5 separate regions of the Homo sapiens genome follow, and all the other regions are linked to region 3. Evidence: promoter capture Hi-C in 16 types of primary human blood cells and fetal thymus (Javierre and others, 2016). All regions are on one chromosome and are shown on one strand. The core of a region is centred on a gene start or on the middle of the fragment in contact, and the rest is flanking DNA. Distances in the headings are between cores, read along the strand shown. Region 1 overlaps SMCO4 (single-pass membrane protein with coiled-coil domains 4). Region 2 has its middle 33 kb from the start of DEUP1. Region 3 holds the start of CHORDC1 (cysteine and histidine rich domain containing 1). Region 4 overlaps SMCO4 (single-pass membrane protein with coiled-coil domains 4). Region 5 overlaps LOC105369422 (a long non-coding RNA gene).

What was found. The method cuts DNA at HindIII sites, captures the fragments that hold promoters and counts their contacts. A CHiCAGO score of 5 or more calls a contact.
Region 1: a contact is called between a fragment that was not itself captured here and the fragment with the promoter of CHORDC1 in region 3, in 2 of 17 cell types (fetal thymus and non-activated CD4 T cells). The highest score is 5.5, in fetal thymus.
Region 2: a contact is called between a fragment that was not itself captured here and the fragment with the promoter of CHORDC1 in region 3, in 1 of 17 cell types (neutrophils). The highest score is 5.8, in neutrophils.
Region 4: a contact is called between a fragment that was not itself captured here and the fragment with the promoter of CHORDC1 in region 3, in 1 of 17 cell types (fetal thymus). The highest score is 6.1, in fetal thymus.
Region 5: a contact is called between a fragment that was not itself captured here and the fragment with the promoter of CHORDC1 in region 3, in 2 of 17 cell types (activated CD4 T cells and naive CD8 T cells). The highest score is 7.3, in activated CD4 T cells.

Annotation. Positions count from the first base shown.
Region 1 is chr11:93,526,354-93,529,053 of GRCh38, forward strand. The region is part of intron 1 of SMCO4 (single-pass membrane protein with coiled-coil domains 4); the gene reads right to left. Among named protein-coding and RNA genes, the nearest start is that of SMCO4, 16 kb to the right of the region's middle. RefSeq lists enhancers at 295-394, 425-594, 975-1,024. The HindIII fragment of the contact is 7,277 bases long and covers 1-2,700 here.
Region 2 is chr11:93,296,710-93,299,409 of GRCh38, forward strand. No RefSeq gene overlaps it. Among named protein-coding and RNA genes, the nearest start is that of DEUP1, 33 kb to the right of the region's middle. The HindIII fragment of the contact is 1,097 bases long and covers 836-1,932 here.
Region 3 is chr11:90,221,536-90,224,326 of GRCh38, forward strand. It overlaps CHORDC1 (cysteine and histidine rich domain containing 1), which reads right to left and starts at 1,514. Exons shown (of 11, transcript NM_012124.3): 1 at 1,356-1,514. The coding sequence starts at 1,419. It overlaps LOC124902812 (a long non-coding RNA gene), which reads left to right and starts at 1,624. Exons shown (of 2, transcript XR_007062978.1): 1 at 1,624-1,885. The HindIII fragment of the contact is 11,072 bases long and covers 1-2,791 here.
Region 4 is chr11:93,499,163-93,501,862 of GRCh38, forward strand. It overlaps SMCO4 (single-pass membrane protein with coiled-coil domains 4), which reads right to left. Exons shown (of 3, transcript NM_020179.3): 2 at 114-186. Among named protein-coding and RNA genes, the nearest start is that of SMCO4, 43 kb to the right of the region's middle. The HindIII fragment of the contact is 1,611 bases long and covers 463-2,073 here.
Region 5 is chr11:87,031,486-87,034,240 of GRCh38, forward strand. The region is part of intron 1 of LOC105369422 (a long non-coding RNA gene); the gene reads right to left. Among named protein-coding and RNA genes, the nearest start is that of TMEM135, 5.1 kb to the right of the region's middle. The HindIII fragment of the contact is 2,063 bases long and covers 283-2,345 here.

The DNA of each region.
Region 1 (2,700 bases), core at 1-2,500, 3.3 Mb after region 3:
CTTTCAACCACCGCAGTTACAGAATGATCTCCTAAATTACAACTCATTTCACCAAAGAGATGAGAGTTTTGGGGAGAGTGAATCCAAGGAATTTGGCAGGGACAAATTCCAGTGAAATCCTAGAGCATTCAGCACTAGGCAGTACAACACCAGGTAGACAGTGGAACATTATACTTCACCAGTGAAGCGATGGTAGAGGAAACAAGCTGCTGCCAAAAACAAAAATGAAATAAAGCAAACCTGCTGCTCTTCACATCCGCATCCATCCTCCTCACATCTCCAAGGTCAGCCCCACTGTTCTCACGCACCATTGTACACTCAAAATTCTCATCAGAGAAACTTCCTTGAGAGCCCTGTGGTTTCCTCAGCACTTTTTCCCTACATCATGACATTTAATCATCACCACCATCCTGGGAGGCAGGTGGAACAGGCATTTTTATCACTCACTGAGAAATGAGGAAATGGAAGCCTAAGTATGTCTACCACACGGCACAATCAGGACTAAAGTACAGACTAATTCCCAAGTTCAATGTGTGTTCTCCAAAATAACCCAGACCTGACAAGGCCACATATCTGAGCTCTAGGCCATTGCCCTTTCCACTGCACTGCTGAGGACCTTCTAGAGACAGAATTCCGACACACAACCCTCTCAGTACAGCAGCCCACTCTTCAACCTTCTCAAGACACAACAGAGCTCACAAACCAACCTTGGCAACCGCTGACAGGCAGCACCTGCGTCAGCCACACACCCTAAATCGGGCTGACCACCACCTCACTGGCAAACACAATCCAACCCCTAGAGTTTCAAAAAAGAGACATACACTAGCAAATGGCTTTCTACTGTCAAATGGTGGGCAGAGGCAGAAGAGTGATCATGGACTCCAACTGTTATATACCACAGATCCCAGGAACCTGGGACCTTTCTGAGTATGTCAGTTCTGGGTTCAAATCCTGCCTCTGAAGCTGACTAGCTCTGTGACTTTGGGCAGGTAGCTTTGTTTCTGTAAGTCTCAGCGTCCTCATTTATCACATAAGGGGTTCCAAAAAAAAATCTCTCAGGGGATGTGGTTAAGGCCACAAAACTATACACTTAAAAATAGTTGAAAAGGCAATTTTTTTCCTTGAGACATGGTCTCACTGTCACCCAGGCTGGAGTGCAGGGACATGATCACAGCTCACTGCAACTTCAGCTTCTTGGGCTCAAGCGACCTTCCCAACTCAGCCTCTTAAGTAGCTGGGACTACAGGCACACACCACCACGCATAACTAATTTTTTAAAAATTTTTTTGTAGAGATGGGGTCTCACTATATTGTCCAGGCTGGTCTCCAACTCCTAGGCTCAAGTGATCCTCCTGCCTCAGTCTCCCAAAGGGCTGGGATTATAGGCATGAGACACCACAACCAGCCTAAAAAAGCAATTTTTACGTATATTTCACCACAATAACAAAAATTAGGTTAATATTTGTTTGCTTTTAAGAAACAGGATGGGTTTTGCTATGTAGCCCTCAAACTCCTGGGTTCAGGTGATCTTCCCAACTCAGCCTCCTGAGTAGCTGGGCCTATAGGTACAAGTCACCACACCCAGTATATTTTGTTTTTTTAAAATAGGAATGTCATAGGTTCACAGTGAGAATTAAATAAGATACTGTAATGGCAAGTTCTTACATTGTCTGGCACATACTAAATCCTAATAAATAATAATTAATTATCATTAATAATTTTAATAGTTATAAAGACAGTACATGCTCATTGTAAAAAAAATGCTTAAAAAGCCCTCCTATAATATGAAAATCCAGAGATGACCACTAAAATAAAGTACTTTATGGTCTTTTTCCTACACATAGATATTTCTTAACAAATTTGGAATGTAATTGATATAAAATTTTGTAGTTATGATCCATTCTTTTCTGCCTTACTTATAAATACAAAAACTTCTCACAACATCATCCAGAAATAAAAAGCCTTTGTTCAAGGAAAGGATAAAAAGTTGTGTGAAACTTGAGAAAAGAACAAGGAGATCAGGTTGAGCAACTGGAGACACCCGCCTCCAGAGCCAGAATGGAGATTTAGCCAAATCCTCCACCACCTGCTCGTCTCTGCCTCCAAGTTGGCCCAGAAAGCAAGAACTCTGGGGGTCTGGCCAGACAGGCCATCAGGGAGCACCAGGGCTGAAGCATGTTGAGTTCTGGGGAAGCCCTGTATTTATCAGGCTGGCTGGGATAAAAAGTTCATGTTCCCTGTGCCTAAACCGGCTCTACCTTCCAGGAGCTCGCACTGTGACCAGGGAGACAGTGCAAGGGGCTGCCCAGAGTGGGTGGAGAGGTGAAGGGAGACCCCCATGCCAATCATTTCATCCAACCCTCTAGATTAAAGATGAGAGAACTGAGGCCCAGGGAGGCAAGTAACTTATCGAAGGCAGCAGTGATGAAATCAGAACTTAATGTTCCAGTACCAATCTGGATACCAGAAGACCAACTTCTCAGGGTTCTAAGTGAAATCACAGCATGCCGCCTACTCAGAGCCCAGCAAAGATGCCAGGGCCCACATCCAATACATCCTGTCCATCAACAAGTACGTATTTACTAGATGTTGGGGGCATGTCAGCAGAGACAAAAGCCACCCCTGGGCATAGGACAAGGAGGCTGTCTTATGGGAGGGGAACACGTGGAGCCCTGTCTGGCTCCCACTCGTGGGCAAGGC
Region 2 (2,700 bases), core at 134-2,633, 3.1 Mb after region 3:
TAGTTATTAAAAAATTCCCAAATCGTCAGACATCCTTTGACATCATAGAGCATTCAGAGTTCCTCTGAGCTTGAATACTTTTGTAGGGAGCATAGCACAGAGTTTATGTTTAAAAATATTTATAAGGATGTTTCTGGTTTTATTAATAAAGAGAAAGCTGAACTGTCTGAATTTTAGAATTGACGGAGTTGCTTCATGTTTATTATTAATCTCTGTGACTGATCTAGAGCTGTACTATATTTTTGACCCATTGTGTAGTGTGTACACTCAAGTATATGTCTGTGTGTGTGTGCACATGTGTACAGATCTTTATGGGACAAGGCAAACACATTAGTGAAAGCCCAAGCATGGCCTTGTCTTTGTGATCATTATTGTCTGCACAATTCAACTTGGTTTTGCTTCCTCCTTCAAGCATTGACAGACAACTTTGCTCTCAGCCTCATCCTGCCACGCTGCTTCATCGCTCCAGTACCGTGTCAGGAAGTGCTAATTTCTCCCTCCCCATGTATGGTAATAAAACAGTAGCTTTTAGCTAGATACACCGTTGTTCATGCAAAAATTCCATTTTCCAGTCTTCTTGCAGCTACATGTGGTCAAATTACCTCATTTAGAGAATAAGACATAAATGGAATTTCATGGAGTGCATGCACTGTCCCTCTTGGACCCTTTCCATAACCTGCTGCCTGGAACACACCAGCTCAACACCTTGGGCTCCAGCAGCCATCTTGTGCAAATGTTGAGTGAGGTCCACACAGTAAACAAGAAGGAGCCTGGTTCTCTGACAACTAGGGGACCTCACGAGTCTGCCTATCTTTTGTTGTTTCATTTTTCTTGAAGCTTTATTCTGTACACAGATAGTCTCTAGAGCAATATTTTCTAAATGATACGCAGCTTCTTAATGCCTTTCTCTGACTAGATGTAATTGTTCCAGCCTCAAATTACCCAAATGGATTCCTATGTATTCTGAACCTACCTTGGCACTGCTCTTAACACCGGTCATGCTTTTTGATTTTTCTAAGAGAATACAGGGTAGTCTATCCGTATTCTTTCTATGTTTAAACACTATTTATAGGAATTCTAAAAGTTGTAAAATATGCCACATCAGTATTGAGGAAATTTGGTGCAATGAAGTTATCTTACAGATCACTGAACCTGCCCATATCATTTTACAGATGAAAGAAATGGGACTCAGAGGATAAGTGATTTAACCAGTGTCACACCATTGGTTTGGCAGAATTTGGGGTCCTAGGCCTTCTGGTGCTTTTTCGAACATTGTACCATTACTCCACATTGTTCCATATCTCATTTACCACACACTGCCTAGGTCTTCCTCTCATGGCCTGAACTATCATCTCCTTTGAGACTTTGAGGGGCCAGAAAATTCATGCTATAACCTTTTGCCCTTGCACATTAGCCATGTGATCCATATAATGATGAGGCAGTTATAATCAAATTCCAGGAAATATGAAAGTGCCATTGAAAAATGTCAGGAGATTTTAACAGATCCTGTGCTTGATGGGAACAAGTGTTCTTCTTGAATCTTGTACAACAACTCATTTTCATCAAAGAACAAATAATCCTACCACTGCAGTAGTTGAAATGAAAACAGAGAGAGGAAGCCATGATAAAAGAGTGACAATAAGTCCTTGTAGATGGCTGTTAAACATCATCCAGATAATTCTGGTATTCTATTTTTCTATCACAAGGTTTTTCTTTTCTCTTCCTTTTAGTAATCCCTTTTCTGAAGCTGTTCAAACCTCATTAAGTTGTCATGTTGTCATGGTAGCCTCATCTCGAAATGTGAATTAACTATATACTGACCTGAAGGAAAATGATTTTCTTATGAAGTTATATGCCAATACTGCTAGAGAAGAGATATACACTATTTTGAAAACTCTCAGCAATAAAATTCTGTTAATCGTGGTGCTGTAAAGCTTTGAAGTATATCTTTATGTTAATGTTGAGAATATTTTTTAAATTCTAAATGGCTTTTTTCAACTGTAGCAATTTCACTGGAATGCTAGAGTTCTACAGTAGTGACTATCATCCTTTAATTAAGTTGGTTTTCAGAGTTAGGTATACAGGGATATATGTTCTAGTTTGGTGTACCATAAAACATATTTTGGGCTTTTTTCACTTAAGTTCAGAAACGCAAGGGCAGGCCTGTAAAGGATTATTTCCTCTTAGGCCAAGAATGGCAAATGGTTTTCTTCTGAGGACCCAAATCTTATATGCCTAAAACTGGATTCTGGGAAGTATTGAGTCTGTCTCCAGGCTCCAGAGAGAGAGAGTTCTTATCAATTAGTAATGTCTCCCACAGAGAAAAAAAAACAGTGAGGTAGCACCCATGTGGCGCATTTACTCTCACCAAAAGATTGTCCTCATTGTCCCTTTGTTTTCTTTCTTTTTGTTTCAATTTTAAATTTTATAAGACATATATAAATACATATATATCTTTTTGACTATATATATATATAGTCCTCATTGTCCCTTTGTTTTCTTTCTTTTTGTTTCAATTTTAAATTTTATAAGACATATATAAATATATATATATATATCTCTTTTTGACTATATATATATTTTTTATATATATATAGTCATGTGTGTGTGTGTGTCTGTGTGTGTGTGTATGTGCAGGCAAAAATACTCAATTTCTTATAGACCTGGCCTTGCATTTCTGAACATATGTGTGTGTGTGTG
Region 3 (2,791 bases), core at 264-2,763:
AGCAAAGCGTCAGTCTTTCCCCTGTATTCTATATTAAAGTAGAATATCTGCAGACATAAGTGCAATTAATGTTTTACATAGGCTGCCAACACCAAAGGGCTTTAAAATCGTTTCTCGATTTTGTCATCGACTGAAATCTCACAATTTTCCTCATGAGTAGCATCATATTTGCATCATAAAAATGTCAGTGGCGGTAACTTGAGTATTGCATAGGTTGGATTTTCCTTTTCCTTAAAACTCTGTATCAATGGTCTTATTTTAAATAACGCTATCAATTTACCTGTGTGCCAAAAATAAGTATTTCAAACATCTCAGAGGTGAAGAGTTCAAAAGGCATCAGTTTTCATCTCCTCCACAATAATGAAGGATGTTATTAATACAACCTCATTGAACTGAGCTTCTCTATCAAATGGGTCTAATTAACATTACATGCGTCCCAGGGTGGTTATGAAGATTAAATAAGATAAAGCAATAATGGCTGGCATGCAGAAAATATAAACTAAATGCTAGTTCAATCTGAAAACGTGTTGTCACTTCTCACGATACGCAAGGAATCATCTCACTTCTTTGTCAATCAAAATTTCAATTCACTGATCATTTCCCGTCCTTCACCTAATAGTCATTTTCGCTTTGGATCCTTAACTCGACATCTAGGTGCTGTAGATGACATTCACTCATTTTATACGGGAGTAGGCATGGTAGTAAAACGTGGAGGCCACAAGAAGAACAAGCAACAAATGCCGCTAGTAATAAAAAGATAACTAACGTACCACCAGGATGAACCTATCAAAACAGCGTGAAGATACAGAGTAATGTCCCTTACCAAGAACACTTGTAAGAGGTTTGTAACAGCGGATCGACTGAACACAAACTTCTACAAGGCAGAGCTTACATGCTAGGACAACCCGCTGCTCATCCCGGCCACCTCTCCCTCTCGCGCAGGCAATCACAGCCATCACTACTTCGGGAACTACAAAGCAAGCTCACCAGTACCTCGTTAATTTTTGCTTCCCCAGAGACTGGAGGGCCAGAGGAGAAACGTGTTCGTTCTAAATTCCAGGCGACTTAAAAGGAGTGCGGGGACGACGGGGGAAACACGTGGATCCATGGGAGCGTCTCTCTCCGCAGTGGCAGAGGACAGTCAGGCGCCGGGGCCGGGCGCTCGCCAAGGGAACGCGGCGCAACAGAGGGGCGGCCGGCGGGCTGCGCGGGCAGCCAAGGGAGGCCCAGGAGGGGCATGGACCTGGGGCCGCGCGAGGACGGCTGCAGGAGATCCGCGGACACCCTCCGGCCCAAAGGGCCTCCCCTGCTGATGAGGTGGAGGGGAGGGAGGGCTGGCGGCGCGTTCCTCTTACCGTCGGAATTGGTCTCAGGATCGAAGCGCTGACCGCAGCCCCGGTTGTAGCACAGCAAGGCCATTTTCTTTTCCCACCGTCACAGGCAAGGCCCAAACACCGGGAACGGCAAGAGGATGCGTTTGCCACTCCCGTGTCGCTAGCACCGGTCTGACGACTGAGGCGGCTACCGGCTTCCGGAAACGATCCGTTGCGTTTCAGGAACCTTCGCGAATTTTCCGGTCGCGCAGGCGCAGAGGAGAAGGGACGAGGCGGAGGTAGCGGCGGGAGGCTGGCACTAGCCCGGGCCACGATAGGTCGGACTACAGCTGGTAGCAACTGGGGGTCGGAAGTGGAGCCCAGACAACAGCGGAGGAGAAATTTCCGGGGCAGAAAATGAAGGTGTCCGAGAGACTGACAATTCTCTTCTGACTTCCTCAGTGCTAACTGGCTTTGGGTATCTCCTGCAGCAAAGTGGCCGCCCCGCCCTCTCATCCCCTGCGACCCAGCACCCTTCTTCCTTGCCTTGAGGCTGCGCCTTAGACAGCCCGGTGGGTATCTGTTTACCCCTTAGCACTAAGGGATAAGTGCACAGTAAGTGCAGAATCATACAGTGTTTCCAAATCCTCAGGGTAGACGTGTGAGCTTAGTAAATGAGAGGAATAGCGGACGAACCTCTCCGTGTGTTTGTGTCTCGAGTGCCCTCATCTCAGGAGCAATTTTAATAACTTAACAGTTGCGGTCACATTACTTTGAAAATACAAAAAACGTAGAAATCAGAGTAGCAAAGAAAATTATGGATCTGATGCTGTGCCAGAATTGATCACAGTTGCTCTAAAGCCCTGGGGTAATAGTTAATATTTCATGTGAGCCTCCACTTAAACGATTTATCAATACTCAGTACACCACTCTTGGAACAGCTAGTAAAACTTCAGGTGCATTATAAAAAGTACAGTAATGCATTGGCTTCAACTTGCATATTTCCCAAACATGGGCGTTTGCAAGAAAAGCAAACACTTTTTGATAACATATACTGAAGGATCTTAAAATAAGATCAGCAGCTTATAAGTGAACCTAAAAATCTATACACTGTTTCCATTGATCTCAAGGTTATTTAGAGATCTGCTCACGTCCTCCTACCCCTAAAGACTTTTTAGTTTTTCATATTCTCTTTCTCTTCTTCTACCTAGAAGTATTAAATTTTCATATTGTGATCCACCATAGATAGGTATGTTTTCTTCATTTAACCTAACGTGAGTATTTTTCTATTTTGTTTCATAGTCATTGTTACAAATGACGGAGTATTCTGTTGAATAAATGCACTGTAATTTAACCTTTCTCTAATTTCCCCAACTTTATTATATATAAGTTACAGTGCTCAACCTGTGTATTGTTTTTCTTATTTCGAATTTCCCCCTTTAGGAAAATTTTTGGAAAGCGACAGTTCTGGGGTAAAG
Region 4 (2,700 bases), core at 18-2,517, 3.3 Mb after region 3:
CCAGGCAGAGAGAAGGGGTAAAATATTACACACAAAACTAGGCATATGAGAGAAATGACTGGGACAGTAACCTCTCCCCAGACAATGAGTTTCCCTTATAAGAGAATGTTTACCTTTTCTTCAACTTCAAGAATCGTTGATTAATTTCAGCAAACTGATTTCCAGTACAGGTGACTTGAGTTATTCCTGTTGAGAAATTAGAAGAAAGGGTATAATAGCTGCTGGGGAGGTATCCCTCCACAGACTCCTTTTTTGGAACCCCCTCAGCCCATGCTGAGAGGGCAGTCACACGGTTCCCCTCTCCCAACTGGCTTAGGGATAGACACTTGTCACCGCCCTGCTCCAGAAGGGCAGACAGACAGATACACTGGCACATGTGTGCATGTGCGTGATGGACAGGACCAAGCAGCCCCTGCATGGAGTTAGAGGGGCCTTCCCACTCCTGTGCCCAGCAGGCAGTCAAGCTTTGCTTCCTGTATTCCTGGGATTTCTACAACAAACTCGCTGCTAACTTAAGCCGCCATGAGACCATGGCTGTTCCCTGCAATCAAAAATCACTGATTTAAAAATGAAGGATACAGGTTTGGGATTAGAAAAGAAACAAACGCGGAAGGTGAAGGAACAGAGGCTTTTAAACCAAAGCCTTGGGAAAAATAAAAGATGAGAAAGTGACCCAGGCATCCGAACTACCGTCCCATAACATCAGAGAGGAAAGGAAGAGAGATGTGTGACAGCCACAGAGGACAGCCAACAAATTAACTCAAAACCTCAGTGGCATTAAATATTAAGTTGGAAGCCCAGATACTGGGGGAAAGGAGCTTTTAGTATGGGTATTACCCATAAAGCAAAATAAATAAGAGTTCCCTTGAAAGTAAAAAGGTGGGAGACTCCAAAAAGTGTCCATAACAAGCAAGACATAATTGAGTAATGGTACAATGCCTATCATTACTAAAATACGTAAAGATAAATCTTGGTTTACCGTGCTTTTTGTTTTGTTTCAAACAAACATTTCATTTCAAGGTATGGTGGGTCAGCAATCAGTGCTGAGTTCAGCTGGGCTTTTTCTTCTGGTCTTGCCTGGCTTATGTATGTGGCTATAGGCATCTGGTTGCTCCACTGGGCCAGATGGTCTCAGATGACTTTGTTCATGTTAGTGGTTGGTACTGGCTGCTGTGCTGCCTTCATATTCTCTTGCAGTAAATGTAAACAGTTGTTGTTTTTTTATTCCCAAAGAGCTTCACAGATGTATGCCCGACCTCTATCCTCGCCATATTTTTCCATTAGTTCCTGAGTTGGGCAATCACAAACTTACCTACTGTGGGGATTTAAGAACCTAATGTCTTATAGCCTCTTCTACTAGGGAGCACTGATTTTGGTGAAGTCCAGAGATTAAGGTATGTAAAAGGGAGGGATGGGACGCAGAACTGGAAAGGGGAAGGGAGTTGGTTATTCAGGAGTCATGAATGCCAAGTAAAGGAGTTTGGACTTTATCAAAGCAGCATGTAGTCTAGTCCCCATTCTCTAAGAGATAATTGCCATTCTGAAAATATGGAAAGTTAAAATTGGGCTCCAGAGGAAAAATATGACCTGAGTTAGAGGGTCTATAAAGACTGAAGCAGTCAGCTGGAAATTAAGTCATCAGCAAGCCGTGACCTCTACCCTTGACAGGGTTCTTTGCCTGCTGCTGTTGGCTCAGTAGCTGCAGCAAAGGCTCTACCAGTTTGCCCTAGTTTCTAGGCCTTCTGAGCAGCTTGTCGCCCCAGGGGCTCACTGGAGCATCAGCTTTCACTGAACAGGGTACAGAACAGCGACAGGGACACCAGCTGGCCTCCGAAGGGCAACTCTGCTATCTGCTCTCCCCAGATCTGGCCCTGTCTAAATATTCCAAGTAGCAGAGGCACCTGCTGCTCGTCCCAGACCTATAGCACTTTCTCTCACTAGGCCTCAGTTTCTTCATTCATAAAATGATAGAGACTAGATCAGTGGTACTCAACAGGAGTTCTGCAAACCAGTGCCAACTCTGCTGCTGGGTCATGACCAGATAAGTACAGAAATTGGGAGTAAGTGCTCAGAAGCTTTTCTAGCAATATGAGAAAGAGAGAGCCAAGCACATAAACAGCAGAAGTGTCTTGGACAGGGCACAGACTAGTATATGAGTTTCCTGAGGCTGCCATAATTATCACTGGAAGGCTTAAAACAGGAAATGTATTAATTCTGAAGGTCAGAAGTCTGAAATAAACAGGCAATGCCATGCTCCCTCTAGAAGCCGTAGGGGAGAACTCGTTTGTCGCCGCTTCCAGCTTCTGGTGGCTTGGCATTCCCTGGCTTGTGGCCACATCATTCCGACCTCTGCCTCCATCTTGACATATGCCCTCTCCTCTTGGCACACTGCCTTCTCTTCTGTGTCAAATCTCTCTCTGCTTCTCTCTTATAAGAATATCTGTGATGGCACTTAGGGCCTACCAAATAATCCAGGATGATCTCATCTCAAGATCCTTACTTAGTCACATCTGCAAACCCCCTTTTTCCAATTAAGGTAACATTTATAGGTTCCAGGGATGTTCTAATCTAAGCACATCTTTGGGGCCACCATTTAGCCAACTACGGCGGGTTTGGGTATTGTTGAATTTGTGCATGACCTGCTGCACATGGTGTATACTGTACCTTTCCACTGGGGAAACACAGCCACCCTGTTTCTAA
Region 5 (2,755 bases), core at 64-2,563, 3.2 Mb before region 3:
ACTGACGAAGGCCCAGTGCAGATGGAAGAGGCTATATTCCTGAATCACTGGTTGCCCTTGCCCTGAAGAACTGGCCAGTCTGCTTTGGAGTTTGTGTAAACACAAAATAAATCTTTCTTATTTTAAATTCTCTGAGATTTAGAGTGTATGTGGTATCTCGGCATAGCCTAACCATTCTTGGCTAATACAGAATTTATTGCCACAAACAACCAGGGTAAAAAACCTGGCTTTGGAAGCATATCAGGGAGGCTCTTCCTTTCTCAGGCTAAGTGATATAAAACAAGCTTATAAATGAGTGCATAAATCAAGCTGCCAATTTATTAAATAACAATAGAAAATTAAAACCTGTCATACAAACTAGGATATCTGTTACCTAATATATAACCATTCTGTCTCTCAAGACAGACCTGCATGGGAAGCCAAACTGTAATAAAAGTTTGTTTTATTCTCAGAAAGAAAACATTAGTTAGATGAGTCAGTTATTTAATGACATCTGTCCAGGAGAAGCTATGCATCCCATTTCATAGTTAATTCCTGAGGTCCCTGGGCTGCAGTTCTCATTCCCAGGCATGCACCTGAATTGCCTCAGGGGGCTCCTCGTTTTTTTTTCTTCCAATTCTATCAATACACTTGTCTTCTACAGATATGTTATTGCATAAGTCTACTGTTTTTAGAGAGATGTGGCTGGCCTCTAAAGCATTCCTTGTACACATCTACATGTTGATTTTGTGTTTTTCCTCTCAAAGAATAATCATAAATCTTTTACTTTTTTATTATTTATTTATTTATTTATTTATTTATTTGAGATGGAGTCTTGCTCTGTTGTCCAGGCTGGAGTGCAGTGGCACCATCTCGGCTCACTGCAAGCTCCGCTTCCTGGGTTCACGCCATTCTCCTGCCTCAGCCTCCCAAGTAGCTGGGACTACAGGCGCCTGCCACCATGCCCGGCTAATTTGTTTTGTATTTTTAGTAGAGACAGGGTTTCACTGTGTTAGCCAGGATGGTCTCGATCTCCCGACCTCGTGATCCTCCCACCTCAGCCTCCAAAAGTATCTTTTACTTTTACATTCTGTGGTTGGAGTGGTAGGGGTTTGGAGAGAATGGTGTCCTTAGCTGTAGCTTCCAAGTACTGGTAACATCAAACTAATATAGATGCTGAGAATTCTAGACAGTGTATGTACCTGAATATTTTGTAAGGCCACTTGAGAGTTTTTTCTACAATCTTTGAAGGCTTGAAGGGAGGAAACTGTTAGGAAAGGCTGGAGAAAAAGGGATCCCTGTTATGCAGTGGCAGAAAGTTTGGCAACACTGTTGCATGCTGAAATGCAGAAAATAGAAAATATATCTAACAAACTGGTGTATTTGCAGTTAAGGAAATTTCCAGACAGACTGTTGAAAATGCCAACTGATTAAAAAAAAAAAACCTATGTGGAATAAGATGTAGAGAGGTGAGATATAAAAGGAACAATTTCATTTTTAAGCAAAATTTAGAGAAAATATACACAGTCTGGGAACTTTGGGTTCAAAAATAAAACTGCTTTTCACTTCCAGCCTCTCCAGATGGTGAAACAACTAAGGCATTGCCTTAAGGGGAAGGTACAATCCAGGGTGCAGCTATTTAGATTTTTTGTAAAGACTGTACAAAGATTTAAAGCCATTTTACCTAGACCATTTCAGCTAGACAAAAGCACTTCTAAGTGTATAAGGGTGTTTTCCATCAGCTTTCTTACTCTCAGCCCAAGACGGAAAGTGTTTGTCTCAGAGGTTTGTGAGTGTGGCTTTTTTTTCTATTGGAGTGGATTATAATTTGATATATATGAAGTCCCCAAAATCTTAAAGAGAATTGTATTGGCAGACACACTGCCTACTTGGACTGAAAGGGCATATGTATCTTTTAATACTCCAGATTTGAATATTAAAATTTATATTTACATATTAGAAACTCAATATTTTAAATAAAATGACGTAAGGAAAAACCTGAAGTTATGTTGCAACAAAAATTAGTAGAAAATTAGAATTATGGCTGGGCATGGTGGCTCATGTCTGTAATCCCAGCACTTTGGGAGGCTGAGGCAGGTGAATTACCTAAGGTCAGGGAGTTTGGGACCAGCCTGGACTACATGGTGAAACCCCGTCTCTACTAAAAATACAGAAATTAGCCGGGTGTGGTGGTGGGTGCCACTAATCTCAGCTAGTGAGGCAGAAGAATCACTTGAGCCCAGGAGGCGGAGTTTGCAGTGAGCCGAGATCGTCCCATTGCACTCCAGCTTGGGTGACACAGCAAGACTCCGTCTCAAAAGAAAAGAAAAGAAAAGAAAATCAGAATCATATGTAGCTTTGTGAAAAGCTTGGTTACTGACTGTTGCTGGAATCAAGAGCTACTACAGTGTCATACTTCGAGTTTGCCGTACTTTGCCATTGTACTTGTGCCTGATAATTATTTCTACAATGACTGCATGTAGATCTAAACTAGATTAGTGTCGTTAAATCCTCTGCATTAGATCTTAAGAGCTCTTCCATTCTTTTTCGTTGACATCTTCAAAACTAGAATCCTACAAGAGCAACAACTTTGTGTTTTTTTTTTTTTTTTCATTCTTCCATCACAAAGAAAGGGGCAACAATTTTCATCTTGGCGTTTCTTCAAAGCCTTTGAATTCCATCATAAATTGCCAGATTAGTTTTCTTCATCCACTGTGCACCTTCTTTGGAGAAACTCTTTGCTTCACCTTGTTGATGAACCCTAAAGCCCTCCCTG